Regions from separate parts of the Homo sapiens genome. Here region 2 is linked to region 1. Evidence: promoter capture Hi-C in human tissues and cell types (Jung and others, 2019). All regions are on one chromosome and are shown on one strand. Each heading gives the region's core, a stretch centred on a gene start or on the middle of the fragment in contact. The rest is flanking DNA. Distances are from core to core; before and after follow the strand shown. Region 1 holds the start of ATF4 (activating transcription factor 4). Region 2 has its middle 64 kb from the start of TNRC6B-DT.

The links. The method cuts DNA at HindIII sites, captures the fragments that hold promoters and counts their contacts. A contact is called where the count stands out against the background at its distance.
Region 2: a contact is called between a fragment that was not itself captured here and the fragment with the promoter of ATF4 in region 1, in 1 of the 25 tissues and cell types used here (dorsolateral prefrontal cortex).

Annotation. Positions count from the first base shown.
Region 1 is chr22:39,519,118-39,524,500 of GRCh38, reverse strand. It overlaps ATF4 (activating transcription factor 4), which reads right to left and starts at 3,939. Exons shown (of 3, transcript NM_182810.3): 1 at 3,750-3,939; 2 at 2,830-3,147; 3 at 1,818-2,728. The coding sequence starts at 3,055. The coding sequence ends at 1,899. RefSeq lists enhancers at 31-80, 954-1,455, 1,532-1,581, 3,462-3,511, 3,872-4,021 and a silencer at 4,402-4,601. The HindIII fragment of the contact is 4,198 bases long and covers 2,558-5,383 here.
Region 2 is chr22:40,105,393-40,111,315 of GRCh38, reverse strand. It overlaps a transcript of TNRC6B not described here and the pseudogene RPL7P52. Among named protein-coding and RNA genes, the nearest start is that of TNRC6B-DT, 64 kb to the right of the region's middle. The HindIII fragment of the contact is 4,499 bases long and covers 1-3,902 here.

The DNA.
Region 1 (5,383 bases), core at 2,690-5,189:
GTACCTGGATGTGGATGGAGGCCCATGGCCTTTGGAGAATTCTAGAATCTCAACAGGAAAGACCTCAAAGAGCACCAGGTCCAAGACCCATGTGTGATGCCCACTCCCAGTGGTGCCTCGGGCCACTTCTCCACAACCAGCTGCATGCATTCCATCAACAGTTGGCTCTCAGGTGACAGTCTATGCTGGGCACCAGAAAGGTCACGTGGGCCCCACCATGCAGGTCGTTACGGGCCATTTGTTTCCAGCTCAAGAGGCAAAATGAAGAGCCCAGACTGGAGCCGTCCTGGGTTCAAATCCCAGCTCTACCTCTTTGCTCAAAATCCTCCTAGGTGAGCTGGGCGTGGTGGCGGGCGTCTGTAATCCCAGCTACTCAGGAGGCGGAGGCAGGAGAATCGTTGGAATCCGGGAGGTGGAGGTTGTGGTGACCCGAGAATGCACCATTGCACTCTAGCCTGGACAACGGAGAGACCCTGTCTCAAAAAAAAAAAAAAAAAAAAAAAAAAAGGCCGGGCGCGGTGGCGGTGGCTCACGCCTGTAATCCCAGCACTTTGGGAGGCCGAGGCGGGCGGATCACGAAGTCAGGAGATGGAGATCAAGACCATCCTGGCTAACACGGTGAAACCCCCTCTCTACTAAAAATACAAAAATAATTAGCTGGGCGTGGTGGCAGGCGCCTGTAGTCCCAGCTACCCGGCAGGCTGAGGCAGGAGAATGGCGTGAACCCGGGAAGCGGAGCTTGCAGTGAGCCGCGATCGCGCCACTGCACTCCAGCCTGGGCGACAGAGCCAGACTCCATCTCAAAAAAAAAAAATTCCTCCTGGGTGTGGCGTCTGCCTCACGGGTGTGCTGCGGGGACTGGGTGAAAGAACACATGTGCTGTGCTCAGTTACAGCAGTGCCTGGGCTGCACTCACTCTCACTCTCCTCCCAGCCATTCCCCAGGCACACCCGGTCTACACCACCTTCCACAGACGGAAAACGAGGCTAATCCCGAAGGACACAAGAGGAAGGGCAGACCTACCCGGGCTGCGCTGATCTTTGCATTCAAGCATTCATCCGCAACACAGGACAAAAGACATCGCCTGCCTGGAAAGGCGAAGTCGCCCCGCCAGAAGTCCGAAGCTGCAGTGAGGTGTGGCTTCTAAGCACTGATCCATCCTAACATGTCCCGAGGCCGTCAGGCCTCCTAGTTTAGATAGCAGCAGGCACAACAGCCTTCACAGGAACTGTTGCCTGCCTTTGTGCCCAGCTCTAGCCAGAACCTGCGCAGGCTGTCATCCTTCCACCCCGTAAGGAGAAACGGAGGCCAACCCTCAGCTCCTGTCCTGTTTCAGCATCAATTCCCAAAAGGAGCCATTTCTTTCTTCAGGATGAGGCTTCTGCAGAACTGTTCAGGTAACAAGTGAAACCTAATCTTGTGTGCTATCTCAAAGACCGTGCAACCTTATTCAGGGTTTTATGCGACAGCTGTTGGCATGAAGCCCTCTTGAATAAACAGGTGGAGGCCCAGGCTGTCCCTCCCTCTGAATCTCCCAGAGATCTCCAGCCTCCTCCCCCTACACAACCAGCACTCAGCTCTGGGCAAAGGACCCAGCTTACTATAAATGGCCAACTATACGGCTCCAGGGCCCCATGAATCAGCCATCGTGGCCTACACCGAGCAGGGATGAGCAAATCCCACTCTGGGAACCGATCTTCAGCCTTGGACTGCCTCCTCCCCCAGATCTCACAGGAAATGTTAAGACCAGCTTGGGGTGGGTGGGTGGCGCTTCACTCGGTTACTTTGCCAGGAAAGGAATTCAAACGCACAAGTACTTTCCCTACAAAATAATTTATTGGAACACACAGCTACAGCACTCTATGTACAAGCACATTGACGCTCCTGACTATCCTCAACTAGGGGACCCTTTTCTTCCCCCTTGCCTTGCGGACCTCTTCTATCAAATCTTTCAGGTACTGGATCTCCTTGGCCAGGGAATCCGCCCTCTCTTTTAGAGCCTCGTTCTTCTTTTCCAGCTCTTTGCACTCACCAGTAAGAGCCTCCTGCTCCGCCCTCTTCTTCTGGCGGTACCTAGTGGCTGCTGTCTTGTTTTGCTCCATTTTTTTCAGCTTCTTATCCAGTTTCTCACCCTTTACTTTTGCTGCTACCATCTTCTCTCCAGGAGGATCGTAAGGTTTGGGACGGGCAGACCCACAGAGAACACCTGGAGATGGGAGGCTCCTATTTGGAGAGCCCCTGGTAGAGGGGCTGTGCTGAGGAGACCCCAGATAGGACTCTGGGCTCATACAGATGCCACTATCATTATCTGAAGGGGTGTCTTCCTCCTTTATGCACTGAGGGATCATGGCAACGTAAGCAGTGTAGTCTGGCTTCCTATCTCCTTCAGTGATATCCACTTCACTGCCCAGCTCTAAACTAAAGGAATGATCTGGAGTGGAGGACAGGACCCCTGGGGAAAGGGGAAGAGGTTGTAAGAAGGTGAAGGGGGCAACCTGGTCGGGTTTTGTTAAACTTTCTGGGAGATGGCCAATTGGGTTCACCGTCTGGGGGGGCTGCTTATTAGTCTCCTGGACTAGGGGGGCAAAGAGATCACAAGTGTCATCCAACGTGGTCAGAAGGTCATCTGGCATGGTTTCCAGGTCATCTATACCCAACAGGGCATCCAAGTCGAACTCCTTCAAATCCATTTTCTCCAACATCCAATCTGTCCCGGAGAAGGCATCCTCTGCAAAACATTTGAGTGATGGGGCCAAGTGAGTCAGATACAAAGGTAGGAGGCCCCTAACCCTAGATCCCACCAGGACGATGTGGTGGTGGCCCACTCACCCTTGCTGTTGTTGGAGGGACTGACCAACCCATCCACAGCCAGCCATTCGGAGGAGCCCGCCTTAGCCTTGTCGCTGGAGAACCCATGAGGTTTGAAGTGCTTGGCCACCTCCAGGTAATCATCTAAGAGACCTAGGCTTTCTTCAGCCCCCAAACCCGACTGGTCGAAGGGGGACATCAAGTCCCCCACCAACACCTCGCTGCTCAGGAAGCTCATTTCGGTCATGTTGCGGTGCTTTGCTGGAATCGAGGAATGTGCTTAATTCGAAGGTGTCTTTGTCGGTTACAGCAACGCTGCTGCTGAATGCCGTGAGAAGCCTGAATGAGAATCAGAAGCCAACTCCCATTAGAGGTTAGCTGTTCTGAGAATTTCATCCTTCCACTTATGAGGCGGGACTTCTCTAGATCGGCCATCTAGAGAATCGGGAACAGGGCAGTTGTATTTGCCCCTCCCTGCTTGCAACTCAGGTTCCACAAAATGGACGCTCACGGAGACCAGGGGATTCTTCCACCGGCCGCCAAGAGGAAAGCGCTCCGTCCCCACGTCCAAATACGGCCAGGGCGGCCGCGCCCCGCCCACCGCCCGCCCTTGACTCACGCCCGCGCCGCCGCCCTGCCGCCGCCATCTTGGTTCCTGCCACGTTTCGTGGGGCAACAGCCAAGACCCCTGGGACCCTTGCGGGGCTCGGGGTCCGAGGGCTGTAGGGCTCCTGGGGAAGCAGTCCGGGCACCCGACTACGCTTTCCCGATCCCAGGCACGCGAGCGTCTCGGGGACACCCAAGCAAAGACCACGCGTCCCGGGCGCTCGTTAAATCGCTTCCCCCTTGGCGGCACCGCCCTGGCCCCAGGCCGCACCCCACCAATCCAAAACCCGCGCCGGCCCCAGGAGCACAGCTGGACGACCCGCCCCGGTACTCACGCCATGGCTTAAGCCGCTGGGGGTTGCCGCTGCAGAGCCTGGTGCTGCTGCCGCCGCTGCAAAGGCCAATGCTGCCGCAGGCACTGCTGCCCCTAATACGCCATGGTGGCCGTGGACCCTGAGGGCGGGGAGGAGGGAAAACGCACACGCGCAGAGAAAACTACATCTGTGGGCGGGCAAAGTAGAAATGGCTGCCGTGGCCGCCCGCCGGCCCTTTATAGACTTCGTCTCTATGGGGACGCAGCACAGACGCATCCTTCCGCCGCGACCACGTGACCGTCTCCTCCCGCCCGCTCCCTTCCCTCCCTCCCTTTGACGCCCCAACCGTTTATGCCCAGGGCGTAGCTGTGACGAGAAAAGGAGTTTGTTCTTATGGCCTCACGAAAGGAGAGAGGTGTACTACTTTACTAGGCTTCTATGATCAGAGTCCGTTCTTTCCTTCGCCGCCGGAGCGCGGAGTGATCTCCCAGACACGCCTCGCTTCCGGTGTCAGCGCAGTGGGCGGGGAAAGGTCGTTTTCCGGCGAAGAGTTTTTATTGTGAAGGCCGAGGACGCCAGGTTATCGCGCGAGGTGCTGGCGAAGAGCGCGCGTCAAGGTGATTGGCCCAGGCCCGGTGAATCATATATATCTCGAGCTCTTATTGGCTCAGGGCCCTAGATGGGCGGCTGCTGGGAGAGGGATCCCGGGGTCCGCGTGGGAAGGGTTGGGGTCTCGGGTCGCTGCTAGTCCTCAGCCAGCCCCGCCTGCTGGCCCGCCACGATCGCGCTGGCTCCTGCCCCCAGGCGGCCTTAGCCCAGCGCACCCCTTAGTGGCCTCAGGGACCAGCCCTTGCGGTCGGATCCCGCCGCCCTCAGTGGAGGTCCGCACTGGTGGCCCCGCCGCCGCTCCCAGCCTGCGCGTCCTTCGGTTGCGGGTGGTGATTTGTGGCCTGCGGAAACCGGGGGGTTACCTGTTCCAAGCCTGAGTTTTCCAGAGGCCCCATTCATAGCCGACACGGCGCTGCTGCCCCCGGGAGGTTGAAGGGGCCTCGAGAGGGCGCGCCGGGCCTGTCCACCTACCCCCAAAGGCCGGCTGAGTCTGCATGGCTCCTCCTAAACTCTGGAAAGGAGCCGGGAAGACGCGCCGTCCTGTCGCCCAACCTGGGTTTTTACAATTTTCATCCGGCTCAAGTGCAAGGCTGCCACAGAATAGCATCATAGAGGAACTTCTGGTGTCCGAAGATTGCGTTCTCCTAAGAACAAGATTTTCTTCGCTGCCGTCTCCCTGGGGTAGTTCGGATTCACTCCGGATTCTGAACTCCCCGGCCTAACCCGCTTTTCAGCAGTCACGCCCATGGCCCAGGGAGGAGAGGCGCTTGGGAACCCACGGCCACTTACTGGGGGTTGTGCGTTGGGAAGGGGTAGTCTGTTTTAAGAATACAAGAAACCTCCCCATCATCCTTCAGCCCCTTCCAGTCAGGCCCTGTGAAGGTGGAAACTTTGAGTTTCCGCCTCCATTTCACTGGGCCACACAAGTATGAGCGCTGTGATATCAAACAACCAGGGAAGCACTGCTCTAAATAACCACAGGCCATCTGCTGCGCTCATTCAACCTCGCCCACAAATCCTTTCCAATGGTAAACCGAGGCCCAATG
Region 2 (5,923 bases), core at 404-2,903, 590 kb before region 1:
GGCCTGGTCCCTGCTCACCCCGGTCCCTGCTCGCCCCACTGCCTTCGCCTCCAAAGCCCAATTGTTTTCCATTTCCCTTGAGCACCACGTGGTTTCGCGTGCCGTTGAACGTGCTGTTTGCACCTGGACTGCCTTCCCACGGACAGGACAAATTTCTTCCCAACTTTCAAGATGCAGGCTTAGGGAAACCTGTTCTGTGAAGTCTTTCCTGACTCCCTCTTCTCACAGGTGATCTGGACGGATCCTTCCCCTGGTGAGCAACTGCACTCAGAACACACACTAGGCTTGCTTATGTGTGTGTACACTAGGAGGTGGTAAGCTTCCCGGTCTAAGGCTTCCTTATCACTGTCATTCAATATAGTGCCAGCACAAAGGACGTTCCCAATAAATTATTGTGGAATAAACACACACATTTTTATGAAAAAACTAAAATCAACTCAATACAATATGACATTCTGAGCTTACAAAAACAAAGCTGGGGCTTATCAGCTGTAACAGTCTATGAGGGCAGTGTACTACTTGCACAGCATCCCCAGACTTCCTGGGAGAAGCAGTGAAGGAAACTTTGGGACTGATGGTAGGACCCTGGCACAAGAATGTTAATCTGATTTTTATGTCTTGGAAGTCAGGAAAGGTTGCCTAAGAAAAACAAACTCAGTCCAAAGTAGGAATGACCAGAAAGACTCATACCCAACCTTGGGGTATTAATCCAGCTTGCTCAACTAATTTATGCCCTCCAGCCTGGCCCCAGAATAATCTGTCAATTCTTTAACAGAAAAGGCTTGAGAAAGTAAGACTGCCTTCTAAAAGCCTAAAACAACTGCAAATCACTTACAGGTAGAGGCAGGGATGGTAGGGAATTCACCGAGGGTTACAAGAACAGCAGAGGCAGCTACTGAAACAGCAGATTCAACTCAACCAGCTTTACTGAATGCTTACTAAGTACATGGCACTGTGCTCAGCAAGTTTTCAGAGCAAGGGCCTATGTCCAGGTTTTATTGCAATTGTTGGTCACATAAGAATTAAGCAGATTAGAGGTAATAAATATGTTAACTGGGTTGACTTAATCATTCCATATTATATTCATAAATCACAATATCACTTTGTACCCCATAAGTATATGCAATTATAATTTGGCAATTTACATTAAAAATTAAAATTAAAAGAAATAATTAAGCAGATTAACATGTTAACTTTTGTGACCAATTTATTGGTGATTAAAGAAAAACCTTTGTTCTTTTTCTATATTGCATATTGATTTTATGAGGTGAGATTGTTCACAAATTTTAGATGTATACTGCTTCTCCAATTAACCAGTGAGTTGAACATTGATAATGATGATAGTAATATGAATAATCATTAACAATTGTTTATGCTGTGCCCCGCACTGTGTACCTTGGAAGTCTAAAAATCTCTCATTTCAGATCTGATCCCCTTTTTCAGGGGCCTTACACTAAATATAAGGAGAAAAAAGCTAAGCGCTAAGCTGAGTGGCACAGAAGTTTAGAGAACGTAGAGAAAACGGTGAGCTAGATAACCTGTGCCGCCTTCAGAGAGAAACTGGGATTCCAGCTGGAACTGACAGGATTTGAAGCAGGTGATTCTCAAACCCTTTTGTCTCAGGATCCCTTTACACTTACGAAAATTATGGAGGACCTCAAAGAGCTCTTGTTTATCTTAATTTTAATTATCAATATTTGCCATACTAAAAATTATAACTATGAAACATCAGAAGTATTAGTTCATTTATTCGGCCAACAAACTTAAAAAAGCTCACTATCACTGATCATTAGAGAAATGAAAAACCACAATGAGATGCCATCTCATGCAAGTCAGAACGGTGATTTTATATTAAAAAGTCAAGAAACAACAGATGCTGGCAAGGCTGCAGAGAGATAAGAACGCTTTTACGCTGTTGGTGGGAATGTAAATGAGTTCAACCATTGTGGAAGACAGTGTGGTGATTCCTCAATGACCTAGAACCAGAAATACCATTTGACCCAGCAATCCCATTACTGGGTATATACCCAAAGGAATATAAATCATTCTATTATAAAGATACATACACGCGTATGTTCACTGCAGCACTATTCACAACAGCAAAGACATGGAATCAACCCAAAGGCCCATCAATGATAGACTGGATAAAGAAAATGTGGTACATATACATCATGGAATACTATGCAGCCATAAAGAGGAATGAGATCATGTGCTTCGCAGGAACACGGATGCAGCTGGAAGCCATTATCCTCAGCAAACTAATGCAGGAACAGAAAATCAAACACTGCATATTCTCACTCATAATTAGGAGCTGAACAATGAGAACACATGGACACAGGGAGGGGAGCAACACACACTGGGCCTGTTGGCTGGGGGTGGGTGGCGGGGGGAGGGAGACATCAGGAAAAATAGCTAATGTATGCTGGGCTTAATATTTAGGTGATGGGTTCACAGTGCAGCAAACCACCATGGCACATGTTTACCTATGTAACAAACCTGCACATCCTGCACATGTACCCTGAAACTTAGAAATAATAAACTATTGCTTTTTAAATTAAAAATGGTATTTCAAAGGATTAAAAATTTGAGGACAGTGGCACTGTTTTACATCTTTGCAAATTTCTTTAATGTCTAGCTTGAGCAACAACAGCTGCACCCAAATATATACTTTTGCATTCAATCTTTTGCAGTATCACATGTCTGGAAAAACTCCAATGTGCACTCATGGGAGAATGAATTTAAAAGGCATACAGCATCTTAGTATTATTAAAATAGTTGTGACCTTCTGAAAGGGTCTTGGATGGGAGGAAGGAGCACACTTTGACAAGTGTTCATTGAAAAAGATAAAGAAAATGGTCTAAGCAAGCAAGAGCTGGGCAAGAAGGAAATGTGTGGCTCCTAAGCCCTAACTTCCAAGAACACAAACCCCTACTCTTAACAGCTCACCTATAACCAAGCTAACCTCCGTGGTGAATCTCAGAGACAGAGATGGCCAGGGCAAGGCAGGGTTCTGCCGGGCTGTGCAGGGTGGTGCTGACAGCAGTGCCACCAGGGAGGCTCTACTGCCCTGGGCAACATTCTCTAGAGGCCACGTCAGGTTTTCCTCTCCAGAGCCTCCACTGTGCTCTCCTGCTAGAAGAGAAGCTGTAAATGGCTTACCAGAACTGCCTTGCCATGGCTTCCCAGGGCTGTGTTTACTAACTGCAAAATCATCTCCCTGCTGCAGTCTCAAAGTCTTCAGACATTTCTTGATCTGGCTGTCTTAAAAAGCAAATTTAACATCAGCCACGTAGCCAGGTTTTCCTTGCCAACAATCATGTGAGTTTGCTATTCTGTTCCTGTGCATCTTGCGCACTGTAAAAACAGTTCCTGGAGCATCATATGTCATGGATCTAGTTGCCATAAACTGAAAACATTTTCTTCATATTTTGTGGCACAAACTAAAAGCATTCTGGATGCGGTTTGCATACAGTCCATCTCTGGCCAAAAAAGAGGTTTAAATTTATGGATAAACAGAGAAAGGGGGGTAGCCACTGCCTTAGTTAAAGCCATTTTATTATCAAAGTCAATGTTGGATAGTGTGTATTTTTTAATTTAATTTTTTCCTGTGATTAATGTTCTGAAATTATCCTGCAATAAGTATAACCATGTTCATTTTATGTAGCGAGCTTAAATTTGTCTAACAGTATTTTATAGCTGACAGAAGCAGAGAGGAAACAGAAGCTTCTTTTTGGTCTCTTAAAATAAAAATAAAAAATAGAAACAGTCATGAATCTATATAGTTTTTCAGTCTTTTTTTATTTTTTAGTAAACATATTCATTAAGGCCCCTTAACAAGACGGGACAGATCATTTTTAAGTCAAAGTGAAACTGAAACTTTAAAAGACATTTCTGCTTCTGGGAATGGTAAACCAGGTAATGAAGACCAACCATTCTGCTGAGGACAGCCAGAAAGTCTGGATAGAATATTTAAAAATTTTTAAAGGCAGAGGAGTACTAATAAGTTAGCTAAGAATTGCCATACACAAAAATCAAATTCCAGGTGAACTGTATACTCAAATGTGAAAGATAAATAATAAAGCTTTTAGAAGATAATATGGGAAAATGCTTCATAGCCTAGGGGTAGGGAAGGATTTCTTAAATAGGATACAAAAAGTACCTAGTATTAAAAACCTGACAAACATGACTACATGAAAATTAAGAGTATTTGTTCATCAAAAGATACCCTCCCTCTTTTTCCGGCTGGAACCACGGAGGGTGTAGAAAAGAAGAAGAAGAAGGTTCCTGCTGTGCCAGAAATCCTTAAGAAAAAAGTGAAGGAATTTTGCAGAGCTGAAGATCAAGCGCCTGAGAAAGAAGTTTGCCCAAAAGATGCTTCAAAGGGCAAGGAGGAAGTTTATCCATGAAAAAGCGAAGCACTGTCACAAGGAACATAGGCAGATGGACAGAACTGAAATTCGAATGGCGAGGGTGGCAAGAAAAGCTGGCAACTTCTATGTACCTGCAGAACCCAAATTGGCATTTGCCATCAGGATCAGAGGTATCAATGGGGTAAGCCCAAAGGTCCGAAAGGTGTTGCAGCTTCTTCGCCTTCCTGAAATCTTCAATGGAACGTTTGTGAAGCTCAACAGGGCTTCAATTAACATGCTGAGGATTGTAGAGTCATATATTGCTTGGGGGTACCCAAATCTAAAGTCACTAAATGAACTTATCTACAAGCGTGGTTATGGAGAATTCAGTAAGAAGCGAATTGCTTTGACAGATAACACTTTGATTGCTCGATCTCTTGGTAAATATGGCATCATCTGCTGGAGGATCTGATTCATGAGATCTATACTGTTGGAAAATGCTTCAAAGAAGCAAATAACTTCCTGTGGCCCTTAAAATTATCTTCTCCATGAGGCAGAATGAAGAAAAAGACCACCCATTTTGTAGAAGGTGGAGATGCTGGCAACAAGAAGGACCAGATCAACAGGCTTATTAGAAGAATAAACTAAGGTGTCTACCATGATTATTTTTCTAAGCTGGTCAGTTAATAAACAGTACCTGCTCTCAAATTGAAAAAAAAAAAAAAAAAAGACAACCTCGAGAAAATGAAAAAGCAGGCAACATAAAACCAATAAAAGGCCCATATTCAAAATAATAAAGAGTTCTAACAAGTTCTAAAAGAGAAAAGGATAACCCAACAGGAAAAGGGGCAAGAGGCTAGATGAAACATGTCATCAAACGATGACAAAAAAACCAAAATTATCCAAATGGCCAATAAACATAGGAAAAGGCATCTAGTCTCAGTAGTAAGTAAGGTTGATGCAAAAGAAAATCATAATGATACACCATTATATACCACAATGGCTAAAAACATCAAAGTCTGATATGATTAAGTGTTGCTCGGGCTATGGAACAACAGAAATCTTCACACACTACTTGTGTGAATGCAAATTATTACATCTACTTTGGAGAATGGTTTGGCTTGATTCTGCTAAAGTTCAAGACAGATACGCCCCATGATCCAGCAATCCCACTCCTAGGTACATACCCAGCAGAATGTATGCACATGTACCCCAAAGGCACACACAGCAGCACTATCCATAATAGTCCCCAGCTGGGAACAACCCAAATATCCTCAATAGCACAATGGTAAGTACACTGGTATATTCATAAAGTAGAATGTCATACAGCACAAAAACAAAGGGACAGCCACATGTAACAACATGGATGAATCTCGCAAACATAAGGACGAGACACAAAAGGAGATACAGCATATGACTCCGTGTGTTCAAAACCAGGCAAAACTATAATGTTTACAGGGACATGGACAGTAAAAATAGAAAGGAAAATAAAGAAATCAAAAGAGTGGTTACCTGTAGGTGGGAGAGGAAGGACTGTGACTAGTGAAGGTCACTAAGAAGGGGCTGTTGGGCCG